2 separate regions of the Homo sapiens genome follow, and region 2 is linked to region 1. The links are contacts of gene promoters, found by promoter capture Hi-C in blood cells and fetal thymus (Javierre and others, 2016). All regions are on one chromosome and are shown on one strand. The core of a region is centred on a gene start or on the middle of the fragment in contact, and the rest is flanking DNA. Distances in the headings are between cores, read along the strand shown.

Region 1 (4,743 bases), core at 1,558-4,057:
AGTTTCATTTCTGATTGATCATCTTCTGACAATTTCACTTCTTCACAATATTGTAATATAGGATGAATACATCAAAAGATGATCAGTAAGTAGCAAAGTAGGGAAACTAAATTTCTGAAATATGATCTCATCATTGGTAAAATCTATAAACTGTTCTAGAAAGAATATACATTTAAATAAAGGGATGAAGCTGGGTGCGGTGGCTCATCCCTGTAATCCCACCACTTTGGAGGCCCAGGTGGGCGGATCACTTTGAGCTCATGAGTTCGAGACCAGCCTGGACAACATGGCCAAACTCAGTCTCCACAAAAAAATACAAAAAAACAAAAAAATTAGCCGGGCGTGGTGGTACACGCTTGCAGTCACAGCTACTTGGGAGGCTGTGGTGGGAGGATGGCTTGAGCCTGGAAGGCGAAGGTTGCAATGAGCTGAGATCAGGCCACTGCACTCCAGCCTGGGCAACAGAACCAGACCTTGTCTCGAAAAATAAAGGGATGAAAAGGCTATATAGTTTATAGGGGCCAATATTGAGACAATCTAATCAAATCTGAAAATCTAAAAGCAGATTATAGGAAATGCAAAGGATAAAAGGAATCCAATCAGCTAAATCCTGAATGCAGGAAATGCTGCAAGACAAATTTCCTGTTTTCTTCAGCAAGTAAATGGCATGAAAAAGCGAGACAGGGAGACTATTTTAGTCTAATAGACTTCAGAGTCATGACAACCAAATGAAATGGGCTGGCCTTGTCTGGGTCCTATTTAAACCAATTGTAAAGCAGACATCTTTACATTAAGCAGGGAAATCTGACCACGAACATGGCAATAGATAATGATTACTTCAGTTAAGTATAATAACAGTACTGTAGTAGTATTTTTAAAGATCCTTATCACTTAAAAACATGTACTGAAATATGTATAAGTGAAATAATCTAACGGTTGGACTTGCTTTAAATACTCTAGTCATCTCTTCCCACAAAAAAAAAAAAAAAAATCCAGGAGATTGCAATATAATAGTCGTTGAAGCTGGTTAACAGGTACTGAGATTCATCATACTATTCTCTACTTTTGTGTATGCTTAAGAATTTCTATTAATAAAAGTTTAAGGTCTTTAATTCAATAAAAATTGTAAGAAAAAATGAAGGGACTACAAATAGTGTGTGAGGTCTTTGCAATTATATTAGCTAGTGCTTAAAACACTAGATGAAGGGCATATTTTCATGATCAACCATTTAATAATTAACTATCTTAATTAAATTTTCACGATTAAGTATTTAAATTAATGACATTCTCCAAACACCATACATGTCAAGACACAGTCCAACTAACGCAAATCCTGATAAGCTCTTCCATCCCAGGAAAAAAAAGTATCCACAAACACAATCACATACCTAAATAATAAATGTTTGGTGCCACCCAGCCACCATAGGGTAACTCTTGCAAATGATTTGAGGCTTCATGGTTTCCCCCAATGAAGAGCGTGAGAACTGGAGCCTTTTTCTCTCCAGAGTAATACCTAGAACATAAGAGCAAAGTCAGTTACCACAATTAGGCATAGCAGAAAAGCAAATAAGTTCCGAAAAAAAAAAAGAAACTGAGTTCATCATAAAAAGTTAAAAAGCTCTTTCAAAAGGAATTGCCTGGGGCTGGGCGCGGTGGCTCCCTCCTGTAATCCCAGCACTTTTGATGGCCGACACAGGCGGATCCCCTGAGGTCAGGAGTTCGAGACCAACCTGGCCAATGTGGTGAAACCCCGTCTCTACTAAAAATGCAAAAATTAGCTGGGTGTAATCCCAGCTACTCGGGAGGCTGAGGTGGGAGAATCGCTTGAACCCAGGAGACGGAGGTTGCAGTGGGTCAATATCGCGGTACTGCACTCCAGCCTGGGCAACAAAGCGAAACTCTGTCTCAAGAAAAAAAAAAAAAAAAAAAAAAGGAATTGCCCAGTATCCATCCTTGCCCTTAGGAATGAAGAGCTTCCACCTTGAGCCTCAAGTCAGTGCCCGTTCAATTAAGTCAAGAACTGTTTCGAGTTCATTGCCATAACCTCATCTTCTAGAACCACAACAAGCACATAGCAGGGGCCCAGTAAAAACTTCAGGATCATTGAATGAACTAATTCCAGAGTCCTATCAAGTACAAGGTAGCTATCTAAACCTGTCAGCTTCTTCCTCCAGGTTATCCCCTCCCAGGCTTCGACACCCTTTGAAATGGATAAGATGTGTATGGAAAGAAGGAAAGTGACATTTCCTAAGCACCTAATGAGATAGGGTGCTAGTGAAACTGACATAATTTGGTACCTAACTGAATACAGTACCGAACTGAATACATTTCCCGCCTCCCACTACCTCACCCCTGTATTCAGTTAGGCACCAATTAGAGATACAGAGAGAACAAAGACAGGATCTAAGGGAAACAGGCAGCCAGTGGCAGAGGGAACCCAGTCCCACCCCCCCACCGCCAAGTCCGGGCCCGGCCGCGTCCTCACCTGTAGAAGGTTTGCATGTGACGATACTTGGGCGGCACGGCCATGCAGCGTAGATCCGCCTCGTTGCGCACCGCCTGGAAGTCGCCGCAGCACAGCAAGAGGTCGACAGGCCCCGGGCCGCGCCGCTCTGCCAGCGCCAGCGTCTCATAGATCTTATCCAGCTCGCCGTGGCAGCAGCCAGCCACAGCCACCCGCATTCTGCCGGCCTGAGGAGGTGAGCGCTGCCTGCAACGCCCTACACCACAGCCAGCCCAGGACCGACTGATCGCTCAGCTCCCGCCAACTTTAATAAGTATAGCCACCGCCTGGGTGTAGACTCCTGCAAAATAATTCACTTCCGGTTTCCAGATCTCGCGAGAGAGGGACCGGGAAGGTCAAACCTAATTCTGGGATCCCAGGGAACTTATTTTCTTTTTTTCCTTTTTTCTTTTTTTTTAATTATTGTTTTATGCAGTCAATATTTTTTTGTATATACATCCACAAATGTACTCTTTCCATCCTTACTCTTTTCTTCCTGGATTTCCATTTTTCTCTTTGGAATCATTTTTCTTCTGTCTGAAGAGCTCAGTTTAAGTTTTCCTGTTTGTTTAGTGTAGGCCGACGACAGATTAATTTTTTTCTAGATATTTGTTTGTTTAAAAATTTCTTTCCACTCTGGGGAAAATGGTGAAACCCTGTCTCTACTAAAAATACAAAAATTAGCTGGGCGCAGTAGCGCACGTCTGTAATCACAGCTACTTCAGAGGCTGAGGCAGGAGAATCCCTCAAACCCAGGAGACGGAGGTTGCAGTGACCTGAGATCGCGCCCCTGCACTCCAGCTTGGGCGACAGAGCGAGACTCCGTCTAAAAAAAAAAAAAAGAGACAAAAGAGAAAGAGAGAGAGAAGAAAAGAAAAGAAGCCAGTGTGCTGGCTCACACCTGTAATCCCAGCACTTTGGGAGGCAGAGGCGGGCGGCTCACGAGGTCAGGAGTTTGAGACCAGCATGGCCAACATGGTGAAACCCTGTCTCTACTAAAGATACAAAAAATTAGCTGGGCGTGGTGGCGCACACCTGTAATCCCAGCTACTTGGGAGGCTGGGGCAGGAGAATCGCTTGAACCCAGGAGGCAGAGGTTGCAGTGATCTGAGATCGTGCCATTGCACTCCAGCCTGGGTGACAGGGTGAGACTCCGTCTAAAAAAAAAAAAAAGAAAAAGAAAGAAAGAGATGTCTTTGTTTCACCTTAATTCATAAAGGGTGTGTTTACTGAGTACCGAATACCAGTTAAGCAGTGTGTGTGTGTGTGTGTGTGTGTGTGTGTGTGTGTGGTTTTTTTTTTACAAAGCATTTCAAAAATAGCATTCTATTATCTTCTGGCTTGCATTATCTTCTACTGAGAAGTCACCTATAAACTTAAGGTTTTTTTTCACTGAAAGTAATGTGGGTTTTTTGTTTGTTTGTTTGTTTTTTGTTTTTTTGAGACGGTCTCTCACTCTGTTGCCCAGGCTGGAGGCAGTGGCACGATCTCGGCTCACTGCAACCTCCGCCTCCCCAGTTCAAGCGATTCTCCTGCCTCAGCCTCCCAAGTAGCTGGGATTACAGGTGCACACCACCATGCCCAGCTAATTTTTTGCATTTTTAGTAGAGACAGGGTTTCACCATGGTGGCCAAGCTGGTTTCGAACTCCTGACCTCAAGTGATACGCCCACCTCGGCTTCCCGAAGTGCTAGGATTACAGGCGTTAGCCACCGCGCCCAGCCAGTAATGTGTCTTTTTCTTTGCTATTTACTGTTTTCTCTTTCTCTACTTTCTCTCCCTACTCCTTAAAGCTATTTTAATAAAATATATCTAGGTGGTTTTTTTTTTGAACTTTACTCATTTATGCTTTCTGAATCTATAGCTTGGTATCTTTTTTCAGTTTTGGAATATTCTTGGTCAGTATCTACTTAAATGTTGCTTTTTTTTCTGTCTTTTCCTACTCCTTTGGAATTTTTCCATGGTATTTTACCTATCTTTTATTTCTATTCCATAGTTCTCATTTTTATCAGTGTTTTATTTTGGATAGTTTCTAATAACCTCTCTTCTAGTTTACTAATCCTATTTTGTTCTATGTCCAATGTACAAACTCATTTATTAATGTTTTAACATTATAGTCCTTTTCAATTTTAGGATTTATATTGGATTCTTTTCCAGTGAAGCCAATAGTTTAAAGAGATTCTTTATCTTTTAATTTATTTCCTTCATCTTTTCCTCTCTTTCTCTCATATATTAATCATT
Region 2 (4,861 bases), core at 524-3,023, 770 kb after region 1:
GAGATTTGTATTTACGAGGTAAAACACACTTATACTGATAGTTATGTAATATGTTCATCAAGTATTAGAGTAAATGTAGCTGGTGGATATAGCATCTTCTCTTTTTCTCCTTTCTTACTTCTTTCCTTCCCCCCTTTCTTCCTTTCTTTCACAATTCTTCGATGCCTCTTTCCCTCCCAGTGTATGTATTTTGCCACAGACTGGGAAGACAAACATCAGGCTGAGGGAGGGACTTGTTCAAATCTCTCTCCTGATGAGACATTTGTTCTGATCTTTCTCCAAAGAATCAGGAGTTAGTTGTCACCTACCTTAAGCAGAATTCTGATGGGAATCCAATTATTTCAGCATGTACAGAGATTGTTTCAGGGAAAATCAGGTGTGCCTTTTAACAGTGTGCTCCTTAACAGTGCCTTTTAACTTGGCCTAAACAAAAAGTCTGCAGTCATAAAGTATGAGAGAGATGGCCAGTGTTTTGAATCCTCAAGCCCCAAACTCCTTGGTGCTGAGGAGGGGGGCAAGGCCACCTTATGGAGGAAGGTGGACTGAATGGATGTCATATAGCTGTGCATTAGTGATTGGCATGTCTGGAGTGGCTGACTCAATGCCTGTCACTGCCTCTTCCTCCCAGGCTGTTTAGACTCTGAGGGTTCTCCTGAAGCCCAAGGAGCCTTCAGCGGCCTGTGGTTCCAGCATCCACAGGCCATCTACAAGTGTTGTCTGCTGCTCACTCAGGCCTCTGATCTGCATTCTGAGATGAAAGGGAGGGAGGACAAGGGTGGTAGGGCTCTTTGGAATTCAGCATCTTGAAGATGACACCAGAGAGGTCAGCAGGGCAGCCCTTGCCTGGTCACAAGGATGAGAGGGAGCAAGGCTATCCCCAAAGTAGCTTGGTTTTTTTTATGGGCGGTCTCCCACTGCACCCAACAGACATGGGGGAAGCAGCACTTCCGCAGAATCCCTGCTGCTGCTTTCTGAGCAGGAGTGCAGATGTTTTTCTTCTTCCTTACCCCCATCCTTGCCCAAGCTTTGGGTGGGAGTGGTGAGTCCGGTTTGGGGCTGCTGCAGATTGGCCTCAGTGCCTATCCTCCCCCAGCCAGGGCCTGGGCAGGGGGAAAAACAGCTGGGTCTGGCCCCATCCTGGTGGGGGCTCCTCTCTCCTTTTCTCTCCTTTTTTTTTTTCTTGACCACCCAGGCTGGCTCTCTGCGTCTCTCTGTCTTTCTTTCTTCTTCTCACAGGCATTTCCGCTGCTCAGCCCTGCAGCAGCCAGGTGTAACAGCATTGTTGTGTGTGTCATCACTTCCCTGAATTCCACACTCGGCTCCCTTTTCAGCCTTTAAAGAGCCTGTGTGTGTATGCATGTGCGTGTGTGTGTGTGTGTGTGTGTGTGTAGGGGTTGGGGGCAAATGAAGGAGTTCCTCTGAAGGATTTTCAGAATAGAAAGGAGTTCTGCTCTGAAAATACTGATTTCTGACTGTCCCGTAGAGGAACAGAATCCCCAGCCCTGGTGAAGAAGAGGATGCCTGATGCGTGCACCCTGGGAAGGGCTGGAATCGGTCTCCCCAAGATGTGCCTTCACATGGCTGTCCGGCATTCGAAGGCTCAGAAAACAGGCAAGAAAATGCGGGCGGGAAAGCTGGCAGAATGATTACTTTCAGGTCCCCTCCAGGCTTCTGCGGAAAAGCCAGGGGCTTCGGGCTGGAGATAGAGGAATCTAGGGAGAGAACAGAATCCTCTCCTTGCCGGCCCAGCCAGAGGTGGGTGAACCGGGCGCTCCAGGAAACGGTGCGGGGCGCCCTGATTTACTTCTCAACCTTCGGAGGTAGGCTGGTTGCTGGCGAGGTCGGGATCCTCTCTGAACAGGGCATACTGTGCCTAGGTTTTGTGGACGCCAGGGCCGGTTCCTTTTCTCCCCGCGGCATTGGGGCGACGCAGGGCCCCCGGCTTAGTGACCTTGGGGCGGCGCTCACCTCCAAAGGCCAGGGTGGTGGGCTGGGCAGAACTCACTGCCTCTTTGCCCCAGTTTTCCAGGGTCCCGCAGCTGCAATTCAGCAGCCACCGGCGCCTCCTGACCGTGGTCCCACCGTAGCGCCGCCTGCGGATACGGTTCCAGTGAACCGCCGATTGAGCGCAGTCTCAGCTCCCGCGCCTCCTCGCAGCCTGGCCCCGCGCCTCGGAGGTCCCGACAGCCGGCGCGAGCAATCTACACGGCTCTGATACAGACGCTTTTCTCCCCAGGGCCGGGAATCCTGCAACAGCGGCAGAAGCCGCCCGCGCCTCGGGCTTCCGGCGGCCCAGCTCTACTAGGGAAGCGTCGCGGCTGCTCTGAGGCAGGCAGCGCTTCGCTAGAACCACTCAGCTCGTCCCGCGCCGCCGCCGGCTGCCTGAACCAGGTTCCGCTGTCCCCTTTCCTAGCGGGACCCCGAAACACCCGGCGGCTTCCCGCTCCTGAGCGGGAGAGAATAGAGCTTGCTGCAACCCTCTGCTTGGAGGGATGGCCTCTGCGGTGCTTGGCTAGCAAAGGGAAGCTTCACTGTGTCTATTAGTACATCCCCATACACTCCACGCCTCAACAACTGTCAGCACTCACTCCCTCCCGGCCCCTCACAGGGCCCTTTGCACCCACACCTCAGGGACTCGGTGTCCCTCCACTCAGGTCACGTTACTCCATCCACTTCTCTCTCCTTCTCCCTCTGTCAACTCCAAATCCCCTCTAGTTCTCCCTCCCCTCCTACTTCTCTCACACTCACCAGCTACACGTACTAATTCAGATTTTGCACATGTTGGTGGAAAACATGTCAAGCCAATGTGCAGACCCTAAGGCTTTTCACACGCTGCTCACTTTCGCATCTCACGGTGCAGAAGGACCAATGGGCTCCAGGTTTACAAGCCTGACTCCGAGAAGCCTGTTGATTCTCTGATGTCCTTGGCCTGTGATTCGGGTGACTGGGCTGCCACCTGGGTGTTTTCATGATGGGACTGCCGCACAGACCACAGAGAAGCTCAGGTACTGAGCACGTTCCAGATACACTTTAACATGCACAGGCCACTCACACAGGCTTTATCTCTGTCTCGAAACTCTGCTGAGTTTGCTGCTCAGACCAACAAGGTGCAGCAGCAGACACCCACATAGCACCAGGTCTGAAGCCAGTGGGTATTAGTCTGCCTGGTTGGGATTAGCAAAGTCAGTTACTCACATATGTGCTTGGGAGAGAATAGGGGAGTGGAGAGAGAGAGAGAGATATTGAGGAAGAGGAAAGAGAAGCGACCTCCTACTCTGGGAAGAACTCACACATGAGAGCTGTTTCCTGTTGTTAAGTGTCTCACTGAGCTCCCCTCTTTCTCCCCCAGGAAGGGCTTGAGAGGCAGTAGACCAGAGCTCTGGGCTCCTCTTTACCTTGCTGATGTTGGGGTATGAGTCCTCCAACACCATTTTGTCCCAAGGAGTATGTGCCCCATCGTCAATCAGGCAGAATGCAGGGCAGTTGTCGGCCTTTTTCATGGTGGAGGCCAACTGGGAAAAAGGCAGAAGGGTCTGGGTCCTGGGCCAAGTGAGGCCCTCTTCCCTCCAAAGACCCGTGGGATGCTCTCAGAGGCGGATTCTAGGGTGGTGGGAGCTGCTGACAAGTTTCCTCTGATATCCCTCATGACATCTATGGCCCAAAGCCATTTTGTTCAGCTCTGAACAGTGAGTGCCTTGCCAGTAGGCCTCAGGCTTGCTGGGGAACATGATGTGTTCTTAAAAGTTGCCTTGTTGCCTTTCTCCACACCCAGACTGTAAGCGCTGATGGGCAGAGACTCTGCCCTCCACTTCTCACTCAGTGCTCCCCACCAGGATGGGCTTAATGCCTTTTAATAGAATTAGAAAATGGTTCTGCTGGACAGAATTGGGAAATGCCACTTTCCTTATAATGAAGTTATAATGAAGTTAGAATTTCCAAGAAAGGGACTGTAGCTGAGGAAAAGCGGTTTGATCATTGACAGCCAGCTCAGGATCTGAGAGTTCTTTGCCATTTGGGGTTATTATAGCTGCATGGCCATGGTGCTGAACCTTAGGCAAGGGCAAGGACACCTCCCTAGTTCCCAGTCATGGTGAGGACCTGTCTGAAACATTCAAACTAGACTTTACTGGAAACAGAGAAGTCTCTGCATTCAGGGCAGCTGGCTTGCAAGGTAAGGCCTGCAGTCTCCACCCGCACGCTAACCCATGAGGGGATGCCAGAGAGAGCCCTTCCCCCTTGGTCCTCATTCCTGGCTCAATTTTCTCCCACAAAGCGGGCACTTTCTAAAGATGATAGGCAACTGCCATGGAGGAAGGCAGTTTTAGATGCCTAGCTGGCACAAAGTCCAGAGGAAGGGAGGGAGAAGGGCTGAGTTTTGTATTACTGTTCTACCTTTGGAGATTTTCCTCATGCCAAGATAGGGTGTGTGTGTGTGTGTGTGTGTATGTGTGTGTGTATGTGTGCACTATAACTTTATGAAACACTTTTTTTTTTTTTGAGACAGGGTCTCACTCTGTTGCCCAAGCTGGAGTGCAGTGGTGCAATCTTGGCTTACCGCAGTCTCCACCTCCCAGGCTCAAGTGATCCTCCCATCTCAGCCTCAGCCTCCCAAGTAGCTGGGACTATGGGTGTGAGCCAACACACTCAGCTAATTTTTTTTTTTTTTTTTTGGTATTTTTGGTAGAGACAGGGTTTTACCATGTGGGCCCAACTGGTCTTGAGCTCCTGAGCTCAGGGTGATTTGCCTGCTTCAACTTCCCAAAGTGTTGGGATTACAGGTGTGAGCCACCATGCCCAGTCAGTTTTTTATTTTTTATTTAAACAGTTTTGGGGGAACAGGTGGTTTTTGCTTACATGGATA

What was found. Contacts are between HindIII fragments. The CHiCAGO score rates a contact against its expected background, and 5 or more counts as called.
Region 2: a fragment that was not itself captured here is called in contact with the fragment with the promoter of DBR1 in region 1 in 1 of 17 cell types (naive B cells); the score reaches 6.9 in naive B cells.

Annotation. Positions count from the first base shown.
Region 1 is chr3:138,172,114-138,176,856 of GRCh38, forward strand. It overlaps DBR1 (debranching RNA lariats 1), which reads right to left and starts at 2,808. Exons shown (of 8, transcript NM_016216.4): 1 at 2,486-2,808; 2 at 1,389-1,513. The coding sequence starts at 2,682. RefSeq lists an enhancer at 2,514-2,723. The HindIII fragment of the contact is 14,113 bases long and covers 1-4,743 here.
Region 2 is chr3:138,948,029-138,952,889 of GRCh38, forward strand. FOXL2NB (FOXL2 neighbor) reads left to right here. Exons shown (of 3, transcript NM_001040061.3): 2 at 1,492-1,611; 3 at 2,237-4,861. The coding sequence ends at 2,544. Among named protein-coding and RNA genes, the nearest start is that of FOXL2NB, 3.2 kb to the left of the region's middle. The HindIII fragment of the contact is 1,502 bases long and covers 1,023-2,524 here.